Linked DNA regions of Homo sapiens: all the other regions are linked to region 1. The links are contacts of gene promoters, found by promoter capture Hi-C in blood cells and fetal thymus (Javierre and others, 2016). All regions are on one chromosome and are shown on one strand. Each heading gives the region's core, a stretch centred on a gene start or on the middle of the fragment in contact. The rest is flanking DNA. Distances are from core to core; before and after follow the strand shown.

What was found. Contacts are between HindIII fragments. The CHiCAGO score rates a contact against its expected background, and 5 or more counts as called.
Region 2: a fragment that was not itself captured here is called in contact with the fragment with the promoter of CDH1 in region 1 in 1 of 17 cell types (erythroblasts); the score reaches 5.3 in erythroblasts.
Region 3: a fragment that was not itself captured here is called in contact with the fragment with the promoter of CDH1 in region 1 in 1 of 17 cell types (megakaryocytes); the score reaches 5.1 in megakaryocytes.
Region 4: a contact is called between a fragment that was not itself captured here and the fragment with the promoter of CDH1 in region 1, in 1 of 17 cell types (endothelial precursors). The highest score is 5.2, in endothelial precursors.

What each region holds. Positions count from the first base shown.
Region 1 is chr16:68,733,532-68,740,063 of GRCh38, reverse strand. It overlaps CDH1 (cadherin 1), which reads right to left and starts at 2,772. Exons shown (of 16, transcript NM_004360.5): 1 at 2,601-2,772; 2 at 1,653-1,767. The coding sequence starts at 2,648. It also overlaps a transcript of CDH3 not described here. RefSeq lists a silencer at 2,657-2,726, a cis regulatory region at 3,679 and an enhancer at 3,607-3,751. The HindIII fragment of the contact is 3,737 bases long and covers 1,131-4,867 here.
Region 2 is chr16:69,129,068-69,135,599 of GRCh38, reverse strand. It overlaps DERPC (DERPC proline and glycine rich nuclear protein), which reads left to right and starts at 3,012. Exons shown (of 3, transcript NM_001002847.4): 1 at 3,012-3,116. CHTF8 (chromosome transmission fidelity factor 8) reads left to right here and starts at 3,012. Exons shown (of 4, transcript NM_001039690.5): 1 at 3,012-3,116. UTP4 (UTP4 small subunit processome component) reads right to left here and starts at 2,951. Exons shown (of 17, transcript NM_032830.3): 1 at 2,911-2,951; 2 at 1,982-2,142. The coding sequence starts at 2,140. RefSeq lists silencers at 2,903-3,262, 3,283-3,432. The HindIII fragment of the contact is 686 bases long and covers 4,940-5,625 here.
Region 3 is chr16:69,096,119-69,102,650 of GRCh38, reverse strand. It overlaps a transcript of HAS3 not described here. Among named protein-coding and RNA genes, the nearest start is that of HAS3, 6.3 kb to the left of the region's middle. RefSeq lists enhancers at 2,088-2,589, 4,014-4,839. The HindIII fragment of the contact is 3,339 bases long and covers 1,831-5,169 here.
Region 4 is chr16:68,419,848-68,426,379 of GRCh38, reverse strand. The region is part of intron 1 of SMPD3 (sphingomyelin phosphodiesterase 3); the gene reads left to right. Among named protein-coding and RNA genes, the nearest start is that of SMPD3, 25 kb to the left of the region's middle. The HindIII fragment of the contact is 1,723 bases long and covers 2,607-4,329 here.

The DNA.
Region 1 (6,532 bases), core at 1,523-4,022:
CCCTTCCCTTGCTCCCTGGACAACAGTCAAGTGGAACAAAGCAAACTCTAGATTGTCACAACGATAAGGCCTAGAAGTACATTGGGTGTATGCATTTTCATCCTGAGTCAGAACTACCATGCTTTTTTTAAAAAAAGATCATTATTCCTGGCCAGGCGTGCTGGCTCATGCCTGTAATCCCAGCACTTTGGGAGATTGAGGCAGGTGGGTCACCTGAGGTCAGGAGATCCAGACCAGCCTGGCCAACATGGTGAAACCCCTTCTCTGCTAAAACTACAAAAAATTAGCTGGGCATGGTGGTGGCACCTGTAATCCCAGCTACTCAGGAGGCTGAGGCAGGAGAATCACTTGAACCTGGGAGCCAGAGGTGGCAGTGAGCCGAGATCACGCCATTACACTCCAGCCTGGGCAACAAGAGTAAAACTCCATCTCAAAAAAAAAAAAAAAAAAAAAAATCATTATTCCTTGGGGGAAACAGTACCTGTATCAAGATGTTTTGGTCCAGGCACAGTCTCTCAGGCCTGCAATCCCAGCACTTTGAGAGGCTGAGACAGAAGGATCCTTTGAGCCCAAGAGTTCAACACCAGCATGGGCAACATGGAGAGACTCCTGTCTCTAAAAAAAAATTTATTTTTTATTTATTTTTTGAGACGGAGTCTTGCTCTGTCACCCAGGTTGGAGTGCGGTGGCACTATCTCAGCTCACTGCAACCTCTGCCTCCTGGGTTTAAGCAATTCTCCTGCCTCAGCCTCCTGAGTAGCTAGGATTACAGGCACACGCCACCATGCCCGGCTAATTTTTATATTTTTATTTAGTAGAGATGGGGTTTCACCATGTTGGCCAGGCTGGTCTCGAACTCCTGACCTTGTGATCCGCCCACCTCGGCCTCCCAAAGTGCTGGGATTACAGGCGTTAGCCACTGCGCCCAGCCTAAAAAAAAGTTAAAATTATCCAGGTGTGGTGGCACATGCCCATGATAACCAGCTACTAGGGAGGCTGAGATGGGAAGGATCACTTGAGCCCAGAGGATGGAGGCTGCAGTAAGCTATGATTGTGCCACTGCACTCCAGCTTGGGCAACAGAGCAAGACCCTGTCTTTAAAAAAAAAAAAAAAAAAAAAAAAAAAAGCTTTTATATCTGTAAACAAAAGCCACAGCCCAGTAACCAAGAGAGGGCTGCTCTTCAGTCATCCCAGAGATGGTGCTTAATGGGGCCTGGGAGTCAGATCCCAGTTCAGATATCTGCTCTGCTGACCCTGAGCAAGTGGACGTCACTCTCTTAGCCTCGGTTTGCTCAACTGTAAAACGGGAATACTCCTGCCAGGCCTTCCCACCCACCAGGTTTTTGCAGTCTGAAATGAGAGACTGTCTCTACAGTGCTGAGGGCAATAAGAGAAATACGAAGGCTTCTAGTAAGTGCCCTCAACCTCCTCTTCTTTATAACATAGTCAACAACCAGGCAGGGTTACCCCCTCCACCACAGTGTTCAGTCGTAAACGTTTGGATCCCCAAATCTGCGTAAATTCCAAGGGGTGTCGTTTGAGCCAAGGAGGGAGCTTGCCCATTGCAACCCAGGGGTGTGGGAGTGCAATTTCTCGGCCCCTTTCCAACCCCTCCCTACTCCGCCCAGGGACACCGGCAGCGCGCCCTCACCTCTGCCCAGGACGCGGCCTCTCTCCAGGTGGCGCCGGGGCACCGTGAACGTGTAGCTCTCGGCGTCAAAGCCAGGGTGGCAGGGCTCCGGCTCCTGGCAGAGCCAAGAGGAGACCTGGGGTGGGGGAAAGGTAGATGGAACCGGGTGACTCGGAGGGTTCCCTCCTGCTCACCGAAACCAACAGCGCCGCCCCTCCCTCGCTCCCGGCGTCGGGATTGGGGGAGGACCCCAGCCCGCAGCCCCGGGACGGGCGGGCAGCGACGTCACCCTCCCCCACCCCGAAACCTACGGCCGCCGAGCCCCCAGGAACTCCCGGGAGGGGGCCGCCGAGTCACCCCCTCAAGACCTAGCCCACCGTTCCCTTTCAGTCTCCTTTCTCATTTTATTGGAGATGTCTTTATTCTCCAGTACCCCACTTTCCTTAGACCGGGAATGCACCACTCCTCAGAGCGAGGGGCGCTCCCACCTCCTCCGACCTCACTTTCTTATCCCCGGGACCCTCACTCCTATTTACGACCTTTCTTGGCATGGCAGGTGCCTTTATTTCTACGGATGCCCCTCTCCTTCCCTCGAAGATCGTCCCCACGACTCCTGGCTCCCCCTCGACTTGCACCAGGGCACCCCTTCTCCACACCCCACCCCCTACACCCCGCTTCACGCCCCCACCGCCCGCGCGAGCCCACCCCGCGGACTCCGCGGCCAGACGCCCCCGCCTCGGTCTGCGCTGGAGGGGGCAGGAAAGCCGCGCTCGCCCCTCACCACCCACCCCCCACTCCCATCACTGGGGGGTCCGGAGCGCGCGAGGCTTCCAGGCCGCTCCGCTCCTCAGGACCCGAACTTTCTTGGAAGAAGGGAAGCGGTGACGACGGGAGAGGAAGGGGCGCAGGGCTGGGGCGCGGAGCTTGCGGCCCGAATGCGTCCCTCGCAAGTCAGGGGATCCGGGGTACCTGCAGCAGCAGCAGCAGCGCCGAGAGGCTGCGGCTCCAAGGGCCCATGGCTGGCCGGGGACGCCGAGCGAGGGCAGGCGCCGGGTGCGGTCGGGTCGGGCCGGGCTGGAGCGGGCTGGAGTCTGAACTGACTTCCGCAAGCTCACAGGTGCTTTGCAGTTCCGACGCCACTGAGAGGGGGTGCGTGGCTGCAGCCAGGTGAGCCCCGGAGGCACCGCCCCCCGTACCGCTGATTGGCTGAGGGTTCACCTGCCGGCCACAGCCAATCAGCAGCGCGGACCCCTCCCCAGGGCGGAGCTGACGGCCCGCCCACCCGGCCTCGCATAGACGCGGTGACCCTCTAGCCTGGAGTTGCTAGGGTCTAGGTGGGTTATGGGACCTGCACGGTTCTGATTCCACTGGGTTCGAATCCCAGCCCCGCCGGTGGCTCACTAAGACCTGGGATCAGAAAGGGCTTTTACACTTGGCTGAGTTCTTTTGTTTTTTGGGATTTTTTGTTTGTTCGTTTTGGAGATGGGGTCTCACTCTTTCACCCAAGCTGGAGTGCAGTGGTGCGATCACAGCTCACTGCAGCCTCGAACTCCTGGGCTCAAGCGGTCCTCTGGCCCCAGCCTCTCTAGTAGCTGGGAGTACAGGTGCACACCACCACGCCAGGCTAATTTTTTTTTCTTTTGCCTTTTTGTAGAGAGACAAGTCGGGGCGGACAGGGGCAGTGGGGGCGCTGTGTCTCCCTGTATTGCCCAGCCTGGTCTCGAACTCCTGGGCTGAAGCGATCCTCCTGCCTTGGCCTCCCAAAGTGCTAGGATTTCAGGTGTGAGCCATGAGCCACTGAGCTAGCAGCCTAATTTTTTGTTTGTTTGTTTTGTTTGTATTTTTTGAGACGGAGTCTCGCTCTGTCTTGCCCAGGCTGGAGTGCAGTGGCACGATCTCGGCTCACTGCAACCTCCGCCTGCCGGGTTCAAGAGACTCTCCTGTCTCAGCCTATTGAGTAGCTGGGACTACAGGCGTGTGCCACCACACCGGCTAATTTTGTATTTTTAGTACAGACGGGGTTTCACCATGTTGGCCAGGCTGGTCTGGAACTCCTGACCTCAGGTGATCCACCCTCTTCAGCCTCCTGAAGTGTTGGATTACAGGCGTGAGCCACTGCACTCTGCCTCGAGCGGCCTAATTTTTTAAAAAATTTTTCTAGAGAGGGGATCTCACTATGTTGCCGAGGCTGATCTCAAATTTCTGAACTCAGGCGATCCTCCTGCCTCAGCCCCTTTACTGAGTTCTCATTTTTTAATCTAGTCTTTTTTAACTGTAGAGCTTCATGGGTTAGTGAGTCAGCAAATTGATTCCCTAGGTCAGGACCACCTCCCAAAGCCTCAGTTTCTCCACCCTCCTAATGGGAATAATGATCAGAAATGTCTCCCTATGCTGTTGTGGGACTCCCATACAATTAAAATGACAAATGTTTCTTGAGCCATAAATGCTCTGTACAGAAGTGAGGGGTAAAAATAGTAACAATAGGGCCAGGCATGGTGGCTCACGCCTGTAATCCCAGCACTTTGGGAGGCCGAGGCGGGCAGATCACGAGGTCAGGAGATTGAGACCATCCTGGCTAACGCAGTGAAACCCCGTCTCTACTAAAAATACAAAAAATTAGCCAGGCGTGGTGGTGGGCGCCTGTAGTCCCAGCTACTCGGGAGGCTGAGGCAGGAGAATGGCATGAACCTGGGAGGTGGAGCTTGCAGTGAGCCGAGATCGCGCCACTGTACTCCAGCCTGGGCGACAGAGCAAGACTCTGTCTCAAAAAAAAAAAAAAAAAAAAAATAGTAACAATAGGTGCTGGACATTGAAGATTACTGTGCCAGTCTCTGTGCTAAGCATTTGACACTGACCAGCTCTTTTTTTTTTGAGACGGAGTCCTGCTCTGTCGCCCAGGCTGGAGTGCAATGGTGTGTTCTTGGCTCACTGCAACCTTCGCCTCTTGGGTTCAAGCGGTTCTCCTCTATCAGCCTCCTGAGTAGCTGGGATTACAGGCATGCGCCACCACGACTGGCTAATTTTTGTATTTTTAGTAGAGACAGGGTTTCATCATGTTGGCCAGGCTGGTCTTGAACTCCTGTCCTCAGATGATCCACCTGCCTCAGCCTCCCAAAGTGCTGGGATTACAGGCATGAGCCACCGTGCCCAGCCACTGACCAGCTCATTTAAGCTCATTTCAAAACAACCCAAGAGCTGTATTATTATTCCCATATGATAGATGGGCAACTGAAGCTTAGAGAGATTGAGGCCAATGAGAGGTGGCGCAGGACTGGAACCAACCTCTCTGATTCCAGGGCCTTTCTTCTAACAATCAGCTTCATCTCATGTGGTCCCAGTCTTCCAGCTGGAGCTGCAGTTTTCAGTCTGTTTTTTGATGTTGACCTGGAAGAGACCTTTAGAGTTCACCCAAACCTATGATTTGCAAATAACTTGTTCAATGTCACATAGGCAGGTCAATGTCAAAGCCAAAGACCAAAACCCAGGATCTTCTGACCCCCAGAGTGGGGCTTTTAATGCCACAGCCACACCATGGCCACCATCACCTTCTCCAGAGAATTCTGTCCCCAGTGAAATAATTTTAGGATCAAAAATAGAATAGATAGGGGCCAAAGGTCTCAGGTCCTGGGCCAGTGGCCCTCCAGCACCCGCCGTCCTCCATCAAAAGACAAAAACAGAATAGACAGGCAAATGTTAGGTTAGACAACTTCCCTGTCTGACTCCCTGTGGCCAGCCACGTCTGGGTGGCTTGTCTACCCCGACAAGGGCACCTCCTTTCCCTTTATCCTTCAAGCATGGTTAGAACTACACAGCATTAAGTGGAGTCAGCCACTCACTAGCCCTGTGACCTTGGGGAAGTCAGTGTTCTCCTTTGTATAAGTGAATTGGCATGAGCTAATACAAAAACAATCGCTAAGCAGAGTTCTTGGCTCATCATAGCAACTGCTCAATAAATATTTGGAGTAGGGGTTACTCTTTCAAAAGGCCCAGCCCCTATTTCGCTTCCTCCTGGGGAAAGCCATGTTTGGAATATTTCACCCAGAGCTAAAGGTGCCTCTGAGTCCATCAAGTAATTTCTCAAATGCAGACGATTTCTGGGCAGCCCAGCACCGCCCCCCCCAACAACCTGTCCCCTCAATTTTAATGAGTTTCCAATCAGGTCTTTTGGATGTCGTATTTTGGCTCCCTCTGCTCTTAACCCACCAGGAGGCTCAGAGGGAGAAGGCTCCGGTATTTCCTTTCCCACTAGGATCGTGCCTTGAACAAGATAATGGAAATACAGAAAGAGGCGTTTCCCCCATGGGGCTGTACTGTCTGCTTATTTTTTTCCTCTCAGTTATGTAAAAATACATATTTTATACCATCGCTGGGCCCTGGGAGCCTTTAGGGCTTTACTTTCTTCTACCCAGCAAGCCTTGGCCTCGTAACTCTGCAGCGACTCTCATCGACTCTTCCATTACACTCTGATAATTCAATAAAAAGGATTTTAGAAAACAATTAGGGGCAGCAAAGTCAGGTCAGGCCTGATGCATTCTTCAGACTTCTCGGCAAGTCCTTCTCCAAGCTCCAAAGACAGTAGATCAGGTGTCCAGGGTGAGGCGGGAACACAGAGGGGCTCCTTGTGGAAGACAGGTGCTGTGTGACTTTCGCAACACACTGAATTGCTTCTCTGTTTCCTATTTATTTATTTAGTGACAAGGTCTTGCTCTGTTGCCCCGGCTGGAGTGCAATGGCGCGATCTCGGCTCACTGCACTCTCTGCCTCCCAGGTTCAAGAGATTCTTGTGCCTCAGCCTCCTGAGTAGCTGTGATTACAGACACACGTCACCATGTCTGGCTAATTTTTGTATTTTAGTAGAGACGGGATTTCGCCATGTTGGCCAGGCTGGTCTCAAACTCCTG
Region 2 (6,532 bases), core at 4,033-6,532, 390 kb before region 1:
GAACTATGGGCATACAACACCACACCTATCTAATTTATTTATTTATTTTTTTAGGGATGGGGTCTCACTATGTTGCCCAGGGTGGTCTTACACTCCTGGGCTCAAGTGATCCACCTGCCCTGGCTTCCCAAAGCGCTGGGTTTACAGGTGTGAGCCACTCTGCCCTGCCTCTTTTCACTTTAACGTACTAATTTTTTCTTGCTCTGAGAGTCACTGACAGAGCTAAGCAATCGTATCTAGTAGGAAAGGGAATATAGGGAAAGCAGGAAACCAGCCTGAGTTAATTAATTGTTGAAGAATAAAGAAAACAGATGAAGGAGAAAAGAAAATAAGGAACACTAGGTAAGGAATGGTTGACTTATCCATTCAAGAAACATTAAGCAGTGGCTTTGTAGGAGGCGCTTGATAAATGGTGGGAATGCAGATGTGAGTATCACTGACATGGTTCCTATCCTCATAAAATTGGAAGTTCAGCATGGAAGAAAGACATTAAACAAACACACAAATTATATAGTTATAACTGTTACAAATGACAAACAGAAAAATCATAATATGGCCATGACTGTTAAAAAAAAAAAAAAAGAAGAAGAACAAGACCAAGAAAAAGATAATCAGTCTGGTATGAGGGCTCACACCTGTAATCCCAGCACTTTGGGAGGCTGAGGTGGGCAGATCACTTGAGGTCAGGAGTTCGAGACCAGGCTGGCCAACATGGTGAAACCTCGTCTCTATGAAAATAAAAAAATTAGCGAGGCATGGTGGCACACCTGTAATCCCAGCGACTTGGAAGGCTGAGGCAGGAGAGGGAGGCAGAGGTTGCAGTGAGCCAAGATCACGCCACTGCACTCCAGCCTGGGTGACAGAGCAAGACTCCGTCTCCAAAAAAAAAAAAAAAAAGAAAAAGAAAAAAAAAGAAAATCACAGGATGCAATAAGCACACGCCAGCGCATGTTCTTCATACCACAGAATGTAACCCATTTGTGGTGGTCCTGTAGTTTTTACCTTTTGATTAGTTCTTCAGGGGTGAGCTCAGTAAATCATCCCTTTCCACATTTCCTAAACCCACCTCTCAGGGAAGGCAATTCTCTGAATTGCCTTCCCTGAAGGCAATTCAATGAAGGTTCTATGCCTGTGTTTCGGTTTATCATATTTATTTTACAGGTTGGAAACTGTACACTTATCTTTCTCCCACTGGTCTTTGAGCTCCGTAAAGTTAGGGCCTCTGACATTTGTCTTAGTGCCCAGTATTTGCCACTCATTCACCGAGAAACATTTACAGAATGCCTAAATTCCAGGTACCAGGCTGCTGGGCACTGAATTCACTCATTTGCCCATCTACTCATTTATATCACAGCACCCAGTACATAACAGTCATTCAACATGAACTAAGATGTTGCACCCGAAGAAAATCACTAGTCAGTGCCCTTGGAGGGGAGAAGAAAAAGGACTAATAGACCTCTGCATACACCCAAAGGACATTTTACCTAATTTTAAATCTCCTTTACTCCCAAATGTAGACATGTAGGTCTACATTCTCTCAGACAGATGAACTTTGGAATCCATCTTCCCACATCACCAAAAAGTTTCTGATATTAAAACGTGTTATCATTTTTTCTGAATTGACAATGAAACAGTACTGATACTCCCTGCAGGAAATTTTGCTTACCAAAGCTGCAATGGTGTTGAGACTGATATACCAACAATTTCCCTTCCTGTGTCCAAAAGATCCAGCAAACCTCAGTTTCCAATGACAGGCAGTGAGATGTCACATTTCTAGGTAGGACCCTTCTAATCAACATTACACAGATTGAAACTGAGCTTCTCTTATCAGTTAGGAGATCTCAGAAGTTTGGTAGTTCTAAGCAACTTCAGAGGGGCTAGGAAGTCACTCAATCAGTTTGATTATAAAAGACATACAAGCTTCTTGAACTTCAGAAGAAATTAACATCAAAACACCATATCAGACTCCCAAATGACTTACTTTCTCCTGAAAGTAGTTTGCTGACAAGTTATAAATTTCCACAGTGCCATCTGTTCGTGAAACAGCCAATCTGTTTGACTGGTTATTGTAAGCCACACAGCGGATTCCTGATGGAACATAATTAAAGAAACGTACTCGATGGACCTTAAATTCACCCATTCCTAGGGGGCGAAAAGAGAGTCATTATTGCTATATGTTAACTGCAGTATGTCACATATAGTATTCAGTTCCTTAATATCACTGTTCTGGCTGGAAGGCTCCAACAACATCTCCCTGAAGTTCATTTCCAAATGGCTGCTAACAATGCCCCCCACAAGAATTACTCAATCTTCAAAAGCTCAGAATGGCTTGAATAATAAGGAGGCTTCAGCAAAAAATCAAAAAGGGTCCTACTCCATAGCTCCAGAGTTCCTATCTCGGGGCGCCTAGGAATCCGCATTTTAGCAAGCATCTCTCCTCAACTCTATTGCTAAGTTTGCAAACAACAGACCTAAACTGAGGTAGTGACAGTGAGGCTGATGGGGCAGGCAGAACCGAGCTCCTCTTGAGGAAGAAACGACAGGGTTTGACTTAATCTGGCTGCCTGGTCTGACGTCTGTCACTTACCCTACCCCGTCCCCCCGACGCCCGCCAACATATATACTGGCCGAGAGTAGAGACCAGGTCTTGTTCGCCCCTCACTGGCCTAGCTTCAAGGTTAGGAACCCGCAGACAGAGCAAGCGCGTTCGGTCGGGCCGGGGCGTCTGAGGCGCGCGCGGTCTTCGCCTCCCCTTCCCTCTCCCCGAGTCTACAGAGTAGCCCCCACCCCGCCTCGGGACAAGGAGACCCTCGGGACAAGGAGCTCAGCCGGACGCCGACCCTGGGCCGGCCACCTTGTAAGACCCCCCCAGCTCTCGCAGCCGCTTCCCACGCCCCTTCCCCAACTCACCAGCGGCCCCACGCTCCCCTTCCCGGTGCTCGCCTCTCTCCGCCCCGGCCCCACGTGCGCGCGCGCTCTCAGGCTCTGCCCCGGAAGTGCTCCTGGCGCATAGTCGGAAGTGCGCAGGCAGTGCTCGCGGCGGCGGCGACGGCGGCGGGAGGTTCGGTTGTCGCCCGTTGGCCGCGCGGCGCCGCGCTCGGCGGCCGCCATTGCAGGTCAGGCCGCGGGCGGGGGGCACGGGAGGCTGCGGGGAGCGAGGGCCGAGCCGGGATTGGGGGCGAGGGCGCGAGGGAGCGGGAAGCTAGGGAGCCGGGGCCGGGCGGGGCGCGCGGCTCGGAGAGAAGAATGGCGAGCCGAGGGGCGGGGAGCGCGGGCGGGGGAGGGGTGGCCGGGAAGGGGGAGGGCGGCGGGAGGGCGGCGCGGAGGTGGGGGCAAGCCCGGAGGGGCCTCCGGGGTGGGAGGGCCAGGAGTGTGGGGGAAGGGAGCGGTGTGGAGACGGAAGGCGGAGGGAAGGAAGGGAGCGAGCGGGGCGGAGCGGGAGAAGGGCGGAAAGGGTGGCCGAGCGCGGGCGGAGGACGGAGAAGGGGGCGGCGAGGGCCGGAATCTCGAGGTACGTGCGGGAAGGGGCTCTTCCCGGGGTTGGGAGGGAGCCCAGCCCGCTATGCTTGCGGGAGCGGAGTAGAACTGGAACCTAGGAAGTAGCGGGAAGAGCAGAAAGGGGAGTTCGGGGTGGGGGTTAGGACCGTGAGGTTTTGTTCCAGGTAACATTTGTAATCGTGGAGGGGGGAGGCTTCTGGGAGAGGTAATTGGAAGGGTGGTTGGAGAGTCATTCCAGGTTCTTTTGTGGGAGGGAAGCCGAGAGACGAGTGGGGTGGGGTCCTGGAGGAGTGGAGTACTTGAGAACCGGGAACAATTTGGAGAACGAGGGTGGTAGAGAAAGGACGTTTAAAGAGTAATCTTTGGGAAGAGGGTGAACGGTTTGGAAGACCACTCCAGTGGGTGGTGTGGAGGAAGGCGGTTTAAAGAATAGTTTCCCTGGGAGGCAGGAAAAGGGGTTAAAACAGCTTGTAATTTGGAGGGGGGTGGAGAAGAGGGGGGAAGCGGATTGAGAAGTCCCAGAAAGTGGGTGGGACTAGAAATAGGAAGTGTTTGTAGCTCTAGCAGAAAGGGTGGGAGGGGGCCGAGAGGGAGTGGGTGGAGAAGATGGGGGTGGGTGGGAGGAAGAGCACAGAGGGAGACTCTACGCCGGGCTAGAAAGGAAAGGGTTTGGGGGAGTACAGGGGGCCGTACCATTAAGAGGAGGACAGGCTAAGATGGGGCTGCAGAGTAGCAGAAGATGGAGAAAACTGCAGTAACTCAGATCGACTGAAGCCATCTTTTCCACCCATTGCTACAAATACCAGTAATTGATTCCCTCCAACGTGGGAATCCTAAAATGTGATGGGAAGTATCACGTGTATGCATAGCATCCACACACGTTTTTGAACACACTTCACTAATGTAAAGTTTGGAAGCATTCAATTCCACCAACCCTCCATAAGCCCCTTTTTGGAGGGGAGCAAGATTCTCATTTGGAAACAGGATTTTAGACTTAGTAACATAAGCCTTTCAAGAGACAAGATCCCCTTCAAAAGTATAGACCTGTCCCCTTCAGTTACAAAACCACGATAACACTACAAATAAAAATAATCTGTATTCGGTTGTATGTAAAACGTTCTGAGTTGTTCACTTGGTAGAAAGGCACATAGAGACATAGTCATCATATTTAGAGAAATTACCTTCCAGAACTTAATCCCTGAAGCAGTTTGGTGAACCACAACTGCCATGTTTGAATTCTACTGTTATGAAAACTTGATTTTATTCTGATGACCTGCTGCTTTCGTAGAATGCTTTAGTCCGTTATAAACATTAATATGCTAACACAGTGTAGTATTAAGACATTCTATTTGATGAATACTAAGAAAATGCCACCTTTCTCTGGGAAATCGATAGCTTGACCCTGAAGGCTTACCATGTGTCAGACAATGTGCTAAAAGCTTTACATTCATTACTCGTTCTTGCAACAGCCTTTCAAAATAGGTGTTTATGCCCAGTGTATTGTTAGGAAAACACGTGAGGTTAAACTACCCACTGTCACATATGGGATAGGTGGCAAAATCACAGAATCCAGGTCTGTATGACAAGTGAGTGCTTCACTATATTCGTAAACAAAGTATCCACCCTGGGATCAAAAAACAAAAGCTCAATAAATGCCAACTGTTGGCCTAGCAAAAAATAGAAAATTGTGAATATTTACACTCTGAAATAATTGATTTCACCCCAGTTTAGAAAAGAATGTTTAAGGGTTGAGAATTTAAAGGCTTGGTTTCCTGTTTGAAAAAAAAACAAAATTTCTAAAACGTTGTTTAGCTTTATTAAAATTTAGTTATTTGTATTGAGGTTAAACCGTTGAGTCAAAGCCTCTTTTTTGCTATAAGCCATATGTTCGGTTTAATTGGATACATATCACACTTTCTTCTGCCACATTTTATTTTGAAGGATTATGAGGATCATTGCTCAGGCTGTTCTGTTCTCTGTAAGACAGTAATCTTTTAACAATTTAATATTTAACAATTCAGAGACCAGAGGGTAAGAATTAAATTCTGTGGAAGATTAAAATGAATACTTGACAAAGAATGTCCTCTATTCTCTTGACTTTCACATTCAGGAGCAGAGGGTAAAGCTTTGCGTCCTAGAGGTGGCATTGAGTAGATTTTTCTAAAAGTTTCAAAAACTGAAACATCTCAATTGGGTATGATAAAAAGCAAGCTGCTTCTTTGTTTTTAGCTGCCTACCCCACAGATATAATACTTTGGTGGCAAGTTACAAGGTCTTTCCATAGGTTACTTTGCCATTTTGTAAGAGATGCTGTGAGAACGAGGCTAATATTTGTAAAGCAAGGGAAGTTATCATACAGAGGTGCTTTACAGGAGGGGGCTGTGTGAGGAGAACTGCAAGAGGGGCCAGATTGTGGAGGGGTTAGGGTTCATATCCCAGCTCTCCACTTAAGTAGCTGTGTGACCAGTTAACATTTAGCTCCTCTAAGCCTGTTTCCTCATTTGTGAAATGGGAGTGAGAAGACCTTGCTAAAAGCATAGGGTGTCAGGGTGAAATAAGAGGATACAGATAAGTGAACGAGGCTAGCTTGTGAGAAATGAAGCCTTTTGTATTATAAAAATAATGTTCTGCCTGGACTTTACTTTTCTTCCTTTTTTTTTTTTTTTTTTTTTGTGACGGAGTCTCGCTCTGTTGCCTAGGCTGGAGTGCAGTGGCGTGATGTCGGCTCACTGCAACCTCTGCCTCCTGGGTTCACGCCATTCTCCTGCCTCAGCCTCCTGAGTAGCTAGGACTACAGGCACCTGCCACCACGCCCGGCTAATTTTTTGTATTTTTACTGGAGAGGGGGTTTCACTGTGTTATCCAGGATGATCTCGATCTCCTGACCTCGTGATCTGCCCGCCTCGGCCTCCCAAAGTGCTGGGATTACAGGTGTGAGCCACCGCACCCGGCCTCTGCCTGGGCTTTTCTTAAGAAATCATGGTGGTGCTTTGATTTGCCAGTTTTTTTTTTGTTTTGTTTCAGTTTGTCTGTT
Region 3 (6,532 bases), core at 2,251-4,750, 360 kb before region 1:
AGGACAACAAACACCCTGCCTGTACCAATTAATTGGCTTTGCCCCCTAAATGGCCTGCCCTAGGGAGCACTCTCTTTTTTTCTGATCTGCAGGGCCAGGGACCTGGTGTTATCAGGCAGATAAGAGAGTCTTTACCTTTATGGCAGTCTATGCCAGGGAGGATTTGCCTGTAATTAGCATCCAGTTTGTGGTGTCCTATTTGCATTCATCCCTTCACGGGGAGGTGGGGAGGGGTTTCTTTAAGGGGCTGCTACAATCAAGCTCGAGTTTATCTCTGCTTACCACTGGGGATTTAGAAATAGGGCTAATTCCACACCCAATCACTTAAAAACATGAATTCAGATGTTGCTGAATTGGCTTTTCCACAGGTTCCAGAGGATAAATAAGCCTTCCTATTTGGCTCAGTAGTAGAAGATTCACGCTGCACTTACAACACTCATTTAACAAACGCTGAAGCCCTGCTCTGAGTAGAGAACACTGCTTTGGCACCTGGAGATCTCGGGCTGGTCCCTGCCATCTAGAACGTTACCCATTTTGAAGACAAATGTGCTTGAGAGTACAAGTATAGGCCGGGCACAGTGGCTCATGCCTGTAATTCCAACCCTTTGGGAGGCCGAGGCAGGTGGATCACGAGGTCAGGAGTTTAAGACCAGCCTGGCCAACATGGTGAAACCCTGTCTCCGCTAAAGATACAAAAAATTAGCCAGGTGTGGCAGCTTGCGCCTGTAATCCCAGCTACTTGGGAGGCTGAAGCAGGAGAATCGTTTGAACCCGGGAGGCGGAGGTTGCAGTGAGCCGAGATCGTGCCACTGCACTCGAGCCTGGGCGACAGGGCGAGACCCCGTCTCATAAAAAAAAAAAAGAGTACAAGTATAAACTGTACAAGGCAGTTTATAATTAAATATTGATGAGAGAATCCAACATGAGGAGTTTGAGGATTTCAGGAAAGGTCTCTGTGAGCTGGAACAGGCTGGGCAGTTTCATGGGGAACCTGAGCTGCTATGTAGAAAGGGAAGAACATTTTAGGTAGGAAGGATAGCTTAAGTACAAGACCAGGTGTAGGAATGGGGGACATGTGTTTAGAGGACAGCCAAGAGAGGCCAGGGTGGAAGAAGAAATCTACACTAAAGTTCCACCAGCCTGACCAACATGGTGAAACCCGTCTCTACTAGAAACACAAAAATTAGCCAAGCGTGGTGGCACATGCCTGTAATCCCAGCTACTCAAGAGGCTAAGGCACGAGAATCCCTTGAACCCGGGAGGCGGAGGTTGCAGTGAGCCGAGATCATACCACTGCACTCCAGCCTGGGTGACAGAGTAAGACTTTGCCTCAAAATAAAAAATAAAAATAAAGGAGCTTCCAGCAGGGCCTGTTCCAGCCGGGCCTGCTGTGTAGGAAGTGCCTGTTACCCTCTAGCTGCTGTGAGGAGGAGGATGCTAGGACCGGAGTGGAGGACTTGGAGTGACCAAATAAGGAGTTTGAATTGTATCCAGTAGGTTATGGGGAATTACCGAACATGTCTGAGCAAGATAGGAGTAGATTGCAAGTACTGTTTGGGGAAGGTTGGGCTGGCAGCATTTTGGGGTAAGGACTAGGAATGGGGTATGGGAGATCTGTTAGGAGGCAGATGCAACAATAAAAGGCTGAGGAGAAGCCACGATGAGAAGTGTGGGTGCTGCCTTCTGGAGGTGGAGGTGAGCACAGGCAGTGACAAGGAATAATCCTAAATGAGTGCCTTGCACGCCAGGAATAATCCTCCAACACTGGAGGCATAACCAAGAGAAAAGTACTCGACGGTGCAGAGAGTTCAAGGGGCCTTTCTCAAAGCTTTAGCAGGTTGGAGGTAACTGAAGCTGACAGTTCCACAAAGATTTCACCTTTCAATGAAATTCCAAATCCAAACTCACGAAATGCTCAAATATCCTGCACCCGTAACCTCTCTGTCATCACCAGTGCCGGAAGCTGCAGAGCAACCTTGCCAGGACCCAGGTGCTCCATCGTCCCACGGTTCTGCTCCGCTGTCTCCTAGTGAGTGGCTTGAGCAGGGGAGGCGGGAGGAGGGGCATCCAAGCTCTATAGGCTGCCCCCTCACCCTCTGCCCTTAACGCTTCACTGCTCCTCCCTGGCATCCAGCCCATCACTTCCAGCAAAGCAAAACAGAATGGAGGATGGCAGCCAAGCTACCCAGGCTGCCTCCAACCCTCCAAGTTTCATCCCCATCCACTTTCCCTGGGCTGACCACCATGAAAACCTCTTGAAGCTAAGGAGGGCGAACTGAAAATGGCTCCCGAATAGTAGCAGGTTATGTTCCCGCAGCTGCCCAAACAGGGCTTTCTCTTCAAGGCGGCTTCAGCTGCAATGCTAGTTAATACATAATTCAAAGTGGAAAGTGTGTGCCTTGACTACAGCAAGGCAGCTACCACCAAACAAAGTTATTCTTTCATAACTTTCCCCTCTTACTGACAAGCACTGTGTAATCAGGACCATTTCCAGGTGCTATGTTTGAAGAAGCAGGCTTAAGGACTTTCCTGTGCTGCCGTTAGAATGGTTCGATTTTAACTCCAGTCTCCCTCTCCTTTGATGGAAGAATCGTTTCATTTCAAATTAAGGGGCCTCTGCTCTGCTGGAGGCAAAGCGGTCAGCCCCTGCTAAGGGGCCAGGTTCTTTTATGCTGGCTTGAAGGTCAGGATTAGGAGGGGCACACTAGACCGATAACCGAATATCAAATCAGACCTGGAGATGCTTTTCTCAGAATCCTAAACAGAAAAAGCTCTTCCCAGCCATCTTTCTTTTCTCTCCCTCCCCTAGGTGAGTGTAGAAAAAAAAAAAAACCCAGAAGGCAATTTTCAACACTTATCTTTTTAGTGGAATATTGTGCAGCTACTAAAAAAACACGTTCATGAGGACAATGGAGGAATACTCCAGACACCTACGATGCAGTGTTAAGTAACGAACAGGAGACACAATCGTTATGTATGCATACCTGCATTTATGTTGTTGTTTTCTTTAAAATCGTATGAATTAGGCTGGGCGCGGTGGCTCACGCCTGTAATGCCAGCACTTTGGGAGGCTGAGGTGGGTGGATCATGAGGTCAGGAGATCGAGATCATCCGGGTCAACATGGTGAAACCCCACCTCTACTAAAAATACAAAAATTAGCTGGGCATGGTGGTGTGCACCTGTAGTCCCAGCTACTCGGGAGGCTGAGGCAGTAGAATCGCTTGAACCCGGGAGGCAGAGGTTGCAGTGAGCCGAGATTGCGCCACTGCACTCCAACCTGGCGACAGAGCAAGACACCATCTAAAAAAAAAATGAATTAAAGGCAGGTGAGAAGTTCACCCAAATATCAAGGTCAGGTTTGATCATTAAGATCAGGTTTGGCCGGGCGCGGTGGCTCACGCCTGTAATCCCAGCACTTTGGGAGGCCGAGGCGGGTAGATCACAAGGTCAGGAGATCGAGACCATCCTGGCTAACACGGTGAAACCCCGTCTCTACTAAAAATACAAAAAATTAGCTGGGCTAATTTTTTATTAGCCTGTATTCCCAGCTACTCAGGAGGCTGAGGCAGGAGAATGGCGTGAAGCCGGGAGGCGGAGCTTGCAGTGAGCCGAGATCGCGCCACTGCACTCCAGCCTGGGCGACAGGGCGAGACTCTGTCTTAAAAAGAAAAAAAAAAGATCAGGTTCAGGCTGGGCGCAGTGGCTCACACCTGTAATCCCACTTTGGGAGGCAGAGGCAGGCAGATCACCTGAGGTCGTAAGTTCGAGACCAGCCTGACCAACATGGAGAAACCCTGTCTCTACTAAAAATAAAAAATTAGCTGGGCATGGTGGTGCATGCCTGTAATCCCAGCTACTTGGGAGGCTGAGGCAGGAGAATCGCTTGAACCTGGGAGGCGGAGGTTGTGGTGAGCCGAGATTGTGCCACTGCACTCCAGTCTGGGCAACAAGAGTGAAACTAAAAAAAAAAAAAAAAAAAAAAAAAAATCAGGTTTGATAATATATTAATAGGTTTGATATTAAAATCAAGTGGTAGAACAATGGATTTTTTTTCTCTGAAATTTCTATTAATAAGTAAAACAATTTTGTAATAAAAAGGTATTTTAAGGCCAGGCACAGTGCCATGTGCATGTCGTCCCAGCTACTCAGGAGGCTGAAGTGGGAGGATTGCCTGAGTCCAGGAGTTTGAGACCAGCCTGGACAACACAGAGAGACCCCATGTTGTAAAAAAAAAAATGAAGATAAATTCTGAGTTCACAGGATTTCCTTTTTTTTTTTTGACACGGAGTCTTGCTCTGTCACCCAGGCTGGAGTGCAGTGGCGCCATTTCGGCTCACTGCAAACTCTGCCTCCCGGGTTCACGCCATTCTCCTGCCTCAGCCTCCTGAGTAGCTTGGACTACAGGTGCCTGCCACCATGCCCAGCTAATTTTTTGTATTTTTAGTAGAGACGGGGTTTCACTGTGGTCTCGATCTCCTGACCTCGTGATCCTCCCGCCTCGGCCTCCCAAAGTGCTGGGATTACAGGCATGAGCCACCGCGCCTGGCAGGATTTCCTTATAAGCCCGGGCAGGGTGGGGTGCAGTCTCTATCATACATGGATTCATGTGAAAAAGGTTTCACAACCTCAGTTTACAGTGAAAGCAGTAAATAAAGTGGGAGGGCCAGGATTTAGGATTAGTGGTAGCCAAAACCAGAGTGATTTCCTTTATGTAAATTCCTCCCACTGTTCCTTTGAGAGAATGTAGCAGGGAAAGGCGGAGTCTGCAGAGCTATGCCAGCTCTTTGGGCACCTTTGAGGGAATTATAAAAAGGCACATGGCTTGGCTGGCACACCCCAGCTGGGGCAGTCCACACTCACCTCCTCATTGAGGACCACAGTGGTCCTGGGCAAGAGGGGGAGGCACATGCTAAATACGGCTCTAGGATTCCCCTAGAAGGAGGCTTTTCCCTGAAGAAAGGATTTCCAAGCCTGGTGATGTCAGCAGCAATGTCCTCCCACCCAGGGAAGTCCCAGGGAGAGGTTCTCTCCTGTGCGCATTGTAAGCCTACTCCCACGCAAGTGTCTGCACCACACACATGTAGTTACGTGACACAAAATGGACACACAAGTGCACACTCCTTCCCAGAGTGGTGGAACACAATCCCTGTCTACACTTAAGGTAAGCTTGTTCCGAATTTGTTTGGCTCTTTTTTTTTTTTTGGAGAAAGAGTCTCGCTCTGTCACCCAGGCTGGAGTGCGATGGCCTGATCTTGGCTCGCTGCAACCTCTCCCTCCTGGGTTCAAGCAATTCTCTGCCTCAGCCTGCCACCATCCCTGGCTAACTTTTGTATTTTTAGTAGAGACGGGGTTTCACCATCTTGGCCAGGATGGTCTTGAACTCCTGACCTTGTGATCCACCTGCCTCGGCCTCCCAAAGTGCTAGGATTACAGGCATGAGCCACCACACCCGGCTTGTTTGGCTCTTGTTACAATAAAATCAACCATAATTCTTTTTTTTTTCTCAGTCTTGCTCTGTTGCCCAGGCTGGAGTGCAGTGGTGCAATCACGGCTCACTGCAGCCTCAACTTCTCGGGCTCAAGGGATCCTCCCACCTTAGCCTCCTAAATAGCTGGGACCACGTGCCACCATGCCCGGCTACTTTTTGTATTTTTTTGTAGAGATGGGGTTTCACCATGTTTCCCAGGCTGGTCTCGAACTCCTGGGATCAAGCGATCTTCCCACCTCAGATTAGGCTGGGCGCAGTGGCTCACACCTGTAATCCCAGCACTTTGGGAGGCTGAGGTGGGCGGATCACGAGGTCAGGAGATTGAGCCCATCCTGGCTAACATGATAAAACCCCATCTCTACTAAAAATACAAAAAATCAGCTGGGCGTGGTGGTGCTTGCCTGTAGTCTCAGTTACTCGGGAGGCTGAGGCAGGATAATCACTTGAACCCGGGAGGCGGAGGTTGGAGTGAGCCGAGATGGCGCCACTGCACTCTAACCTGGGTGACAGAGCGACACTCCGTCTCCAAAAAAAAAAAAAAAAAAAAATTGGTGTTGGGATTACAGGTGTGAGCCACCAAGCCTGGCCCCACAATTCTTTTTTTTTTTTTTTTTTTTTTTTTTTTTTGAGACAGAGTCTCCCTCTGTCATCCAGACTGGAATGCATGGTGTGATCTTTGCTCACGGCAACCTCCGCCTCCCGGATTCAAGCAATTCTCCTGCCTCAGCCTCCCAAGTAGCTGGGACTAGAGGCGTGTGCCACCACACCTGGCTAATTGTCAAAAAATATTTTTAGTAGAGACAGGGTTTCACCACATTGGCCAGACTGGTCTCAAACTCCTGACCTCAAGTGATCCACCTGCCTCACCTCCAAAGTGCTGGGATTACAGGCGTGAGCCACCGTGCCCAGCCATGTCCCCACAATTCTTTTTTTTTTTTTTTTTTTTGAGACGGAGTCTGACTCCGTCGCCCAGGCTGGAGTGCAGTGGCATGATCTCTGCTCACTGCAGTCTCGGCCTCTTAGGTTCAAGCGATTCTCCTGCC
Region 4 (6,532 bases), core at 2,219-4,718, 310 kb after region 1:
CACCACTCTTTGTTTTCTCTTCCTCCAGTCTCCAGTCCCCATAATGACATAATAAATGGGGTTGTCAAAGATCAAATAAGGTTATTGAATCAACATTCATTTCCTTGTGGGTACACCTGTGTCTGACATCCGTGGGGCTTGGTTCTACATTAAGCCTTAGTAGATTCTCCGTTCAAATGTTGACTAGATACCTGATCATGTAAACGTCCTATTTAGAACTATGCTATGCATCTTGCAAAAGTGGAACAGGATTATTGATACTGTAGTAGATAAGATGGCTAAAATAGAGCCTCTATTTTATTTTCACCTTTGTTGTGTCTTAAGTCTGAAGTTTATTTTCCTTGAGGAAAATCTAGCCCATCATCAGCACTAGGGATCCCTGCTTCTTTTTAAGCAAATCCACTCTCAGTGCTCCCTTAGCATCCTCCACATGGAATCCTCTGTGCTGGGGGTACATTGTCACCTCAGAGACACACATGTGATTGACTTCCTCGCGGCATAGTGCAAGGGAGGAGGGCTGACAAACCCAGGTGTTGTTCCTTCTGGGTGGCACACCTCTCCCTCTCTTTCAGCAGGGAGTGCTTGTTCTCCAGATCCCCACCACCCAGCCCCAGCCTGGGCTGGCCCGAGGCCGGATATCTTGCTGAGTATCCCACCACCCTCCCAGCCTGCAGATTCACCCATCCTTATTGCCTCACAGTGCTAACAGCAATCTGAAGAGCTTAGGGTCAGCATTGATGTGTCCCATGGCGCTGCCACCTCCCTGCCCCTGTCATCACAGCCTCCTTGGTTTCTGCCCATCCTTCTTCTGACTCTGGCTCCTTAGGGCCCGCCCCCCCACCCATTGTCCTCATGGCATCCAGTGGAGTTTGCCTCCTGTGGCTGTCACTCTGCAAAAGCCAAAGACCCTCTCCAAGAGATGAGGAAGCTGGGCCCCTTCGCTCCCTCCTACTGATTATTCATGTGAAACCTTGGAACCATCCAGCTGGAGGAGACCCTCTTGGCATGCAGGGCTCTTGCCCCTGCCTTCACCCATCCCAAGCAGTCTATTTCTTTTGAATAGGAAAGATTCTCCCTCACCAGTTCCAGCCTTGACTTCGGTGCACCTCCAGAGACATCCATGAAGTTCTGTTTTGATTTCCCATATACAGAGAATTGACAACCAAAGGTCTAAAGCCAGAGGTTCTAATTCTGGCCCTTGTAAGCCCTACTATCTGATAAGTGGGAGTGAGTGCCATGACTACCAACCCACAGGCACCATCCCATCAGCTGAGGCCCAGGCCTCTCTTCCACATCTTCCTGGGAGGAGGTTTCTGCATCTTTTATTAGGGACTGTTTTCTTAAGAACATTCTTCTGGTTTATAATATAGCCAGGCGCAGTGGCTTATACCAGCAATCGCAGCATTTTGGGAGGCCAAGGTGGGCAGATCACTTGAGACCAGGAGTTCAAGACCAGCCTGAGCAACTTGGTGAAACCCTGTCTCTACCAAAAATACAAAAAATTAGCCAGGCATGGTGATGTGCACCTGTAATCCCAGCTACTCAGGAAGCTAAGGTGGGAGGATCACTTGAGCCCAGGAGGCGGAGGTTGCAGTGAACTGAGATCATGCCACTGCACTCCAGCCTGGGTCACAGAGTGAGACCCCATCTCAAAAAAAAGAGAAAACATTCTTCTGGTTTATAATAGAGTCATGAAGACAGTAACTTTGCAAGAGAATAGAGTCATCAAGACAGTAACTTTGCTGATGCCTGGCGTGGCGCTGAACCATTCTGTGTGGATTCTCCCATTTCATCCCCTCAGCTGTTGTATGATGCAGCTACTATGATTACCTCCATTTTACAGATGTGAGAATTGGGGTTCATAAGTAAAATTACTTTTCCCAGGTCACTGTGGAGTCAGGCCCAACATGACTTGAGGGTCTGACTGTTCGACCATGATCCACAGGCCCTTGCACACAGGACCAAAGCTCTGCAGGCAGTGCCCAGGAGTCACAAGGGTCTCTGCTGATGCTTATTCCCCCTACGGCCCCTGCAGCCCCATTGTGGAGGGGCAAGTGAAGAAGGCAGAAGGCAGACTTAATGCTGGGGCTGGGAGTTCAGGATTCAAAGCTTCAAGATGGTATCTTTAGGATAATTACATCCTGCCATGTATACACAGGAGTAAGGACATGGCAGTACTCCTGGCCAAAGAGAGGATTCAGGAGAAACTGTTGTTCCCACAGCCAGTGACCAGGGCAGGCTTAGCCAGGGGGCCTAGGACCCTCTGGCACCCTAGGACCACCTAGGCCCCCTGGCTAAGACTGCCCTGGCCATTGGCTAACTCCTTGGGCTTTGTGCAGGGAGGGCCTGACTGGGCAGGTGACGTCCCCAGGCCGAGCCCTTGGTCACCTTGGGCCATGTCCACCCTCACTGTGGACTGTTCACCGCCACTGAGGCCTCCAGACCTTCCATCTCCCCAGCACTGCTCTGCTGGGTGACATCACCGCCTCCTCAGCCACTGCTGGGGTCCAGAACCACCCACATCAGCCTCCATAACTTGTTTCACTTGTGCCAGTCTGTTCTTTCATGCTCAGAGTGCCCCACGGGGTCTGGAATAGTGCCAAGCTTAGGAAGTACCTGCTGGTGGGTAAAAAATGAGGTGGTCCTAAGCTCCTTGGCTAAGCCTGAAGCAGAGATCTGGGGTTCAGGAACAAGACCAGTAGGAAGAAAAAGACTCAACCCAGTTTGCTGGTGTCTTAGTTCATTTTCTATTGCTGTAACAGGACACCTGAGACTGGGTAATTTAGAAAGACAAGAAATGTATTTCTTACAGTTCTGGAGGCTGGGAAGTCCAAGATCAAGGGGGTCGCATCTGATGAGGGTCTTCTTTCTGTGTCATAATATGGTAGAAGATGGAGAGAGATAGAGAGTATGCCAGCTCAGATCTCTCTTCCTCTTATAAAGCCGCCAGCCCCATCATGGATCCCCACCCTAACTACCTTAACTAATCCTAATTACCACCCATAGGCCTCACCTCCAAATGCCATCAATATATGAATTTGGAGATTAGGTTTCTAACACAAGAAATTTGGGGGACACATTCAAACCATAGCAGCTAGTAAGTAACTCTCTGAGGAATCCCAGGAAGCATCTTCAGCTACTCAGAGCAAGGTCACAAGAAGGGAATGATCTTTGAGATCCCTTTTGTGCCATAAAGGAGGTGACAAGGAGGCCAGAAAACCTTGGTCAAAATCCTGACTCTGATGCTAACTTGAACCAATTACTTCACCTCTTTGAGCCTTAGTTTCCTCAGCTGTAAAATAAGGTAATACCAGTGCCTGTCTCTTAGGTTGTTGTGAAGATCACTGAGCTAATAACTTTGAAAATGACTGTGAAGCCCCCGCTGAGAACTGTGGAAAGGTTTACCATTACAACTAAAATCCTCTAAATCAGGCTGGGGCTGTATATGTGTTCAATGGTTAAGGAAACTGGTGCTTTTCAAGGAGACTCCAATATTCTAGCTGAAAAGGACCTCAGAGATCCTCACATTAACCTCCTCACTTTAACGAAGGAACCAGTGCAGCCCAGCCCAGAATCTCCCAGCAGCCTACACGCCACCTCTTTCTCTGCAGCAGGTACACCCAGGGGAGGCAGAAACTCGCCCACTATTCCCTGGAGGTTAAAATAAGGAGACTGCATGGGAAGCAATTTGCAGTCATCTCAGATCTGTGGCTAAGGAGAAAATTCCCTCCCCTTTTCTCCAAACCCTCAGCATCATCAAACTAAACAACCCCTCAGTGGGAGGTGGAATTCTTCACCACCAGTTCTCACCTGACTGGAGGCCTCCAAGCAGCTGGGCCTGTACTGTTTTTTATTTCAACAACAGCAAAACCTTCTTTTCCTCCCTCTGAGCACTTTACTATACTCTGTTTCCTGCACATTCTTCCAGCTTCTTGCTCAGGGGCCTTATACGTCTATCTTGTCCAAGCACCTGCCCAGATCACAGCAAAATGAGAACCAGGCCCAACATCCATGGCTTTCCCAGTTCTGGGCAAGGGAAGAGGTTAATTCAGATTCCATGAGGGCCTCTGCAGAATCACAATATTTCCTCACCTAGGATAAATTCCACCTCCTTCTGAGGATTTCTGCTGTAGTTTGGTGATGCTGAGGAATATGTTATCTTACAGTTTTGGAGGTCAGAAACCCAAAATCAATTTCACTGAGCTAAAATCAAAGCATCAGCAGGCTGGTGTTCCTTCGGGAAGCTCTAGGGGAGAATCTGTTTCCTTCTAACTTCTAGAGCCTGCCTATATTCCTTGGCTCCTTGCTCCTTCCTCCATTTTCAAAGCTTCAGCCTCTGCTTCCTTGTCATCCTCTTCTTCCACCTTCAGCGGTCTTGCTTCCCTCTCAAAAGGATCCTTGTCGTTACGTTGGGCCTATCTGGATAATCCAGGCTTCTCTCCCCATCTCAAGATGCTTGACTTAATCACATCTGCAAAGTTCCTTTTGCCACATAGAGTAGCATATTCACCAGTTCTGGAGATTAGGATATGGACATCTTTCAGGGGCTACTACCAAGTCTAATAGGCAGGCCACTGGACCCCTAAGCCTTGGTTTCATCAAGCAAGTAGGGAAGAAAAACAATGCCCACCCCTAGACTCTTTAATGGGTCGAACTCAATGGTGCCCTGGAATGTCAATGGCTAGGAATGGAGGCCGAGCTATGAGTATCAGGCCTCATTCCCTAGCCAAGTCAAAGAGATGTGTCTGGGAGGTGGTAGAGTGAGGGAGTGGGGCTTGGACTTAATTGTTTTACTGGACATGGCTTCTTCAGGTGTACTGGGGGAGTGGTTTGCACAAACACTGCCAGGTTGGTCATAAGTCTGTCCCCCTGGCTCATTGCCATGCTGGCTTTGGCTCCATTGCCTCTGGTCTCTTCATCCCCCACCCCACATACCTATCTTCCTGTGCTGTCATTCCAAAGCACACATATAACCACGTCTCTCCCTTTTGTGGCTCCCCCTCATCCTTGGGTGGAGGTTCAAGCTCTTTACCTTGAGTTACACAGTCTCTGCCATTCCCCACAAGCGCCAGACAGAGCCACAGAAAGCAGGTGGCAGATGTGCGAGGGCAGAGCTGGGAATGGGGGTGAAGCAGATGAGGGAGGATGGGGATACTGTGCAGATGGTGTTGCAGGGACGGGCCTGACTCCAGGGGCCCCTGTGTACAGAGGCAGTTGGTGCCGACATGCTGGTGGTCTCTGGCTGTGAACCCAGGTGGGCCAGTGAATGAGCATCAGGTAGAACCCAGCCCATCAGAGCTGTTGGCCTGGTCCTGACTCAAATGGGAGTGGCTTCTGGGTGCTGGTTATTGTTCTGAAGTCTGGAAGGACAAGAGGGGAAGTCTTTTCTCCACAAATGATTTTGGCCAAACCCCAGGGATGGAGAATGCCCACTAGGACCTGGATGAGCTGAAGGCCATAGCTTGCTGAGGGAGCGATTTGGTCTCTCTCTGCATTAGCTGAAGACATGTTGAAGTGGGTTCAGGGCCCCCACCTACCTGAGTCACCATCATGAAGCTTAATTAATGCTTACAAAGTGCTCTGAGGCCTTGACTGAGAGGCCTCATGTGAACACAGAATATCCTTATTAATCACTGTGACAGCACCAAGTGAGGTGGCCTATGGGGCAGCTGCCTCCACACACAGAACAATGGATGCAGCCCAGCAGTTAAATTGCGATTTTGAAGAGTAGTCCTGATCAGCTGGTTCAAAAGCAGCTTAGCTGGAGGAGGCAGGCCTGCCTAGGAGCCACTTAACTCACCTGGCCCTTATCTCCCATGCATTAAGTTGAGGCAATAAAACGCCCCTCCCTGCTGGGCAGGGATAATGGGAGGACTGTCAGGTAATGGTGAAGCATCCCTTTTAAGCCTGGGTAACCAGGCTATTAGCCTAGCCAGAGGGAGCCAACTGGAAGATCATATAGGCTCCGTACCAGGCTGAGTGTCTTTGGACAAGTCCCTCAACTTCTCTGAACCTCAATTTCCTCATCTGCAAAGTGGGACAATAACAATTGTACCTTTTTCCTTATAGGATTGCGAAGTTCAAATGAAATGGATATGAAAGGTGCCTATAGTAATGATATTAGTAATAAGAATAATGGCCGGGCATGGTGGCTCACACGTATAATCCCAGCACTTTGGGAGGCTGAGGCAGATGGATCACCTGAGGTCAGGAGTTCGGTACCAGCCTGGCCAACATGGCAAAACCTGTGCATGCCTGTGGTCTCAGCTACTTGGGAGACAGGTGGGAGGATTGCTTGAGCCTAGGAGGTTGAGGCTGCAGTGAGCCAAGATCACACCACTGCACTCCAGGCCATGTGACAAGAAAGACACTATCTCTTAAAAAAAAAAAAAAAAAAGCAATAGCTATTCGGGATACTACATGTTCCAATAATCAGCTACTCTGATCCCCACTTTACAGATGAGGGAGCCCAAGAACAAAGTGACCTCCAAGTTCCCACAATTAGTGATAGGTGGAGCTGGAACTCAGGCAG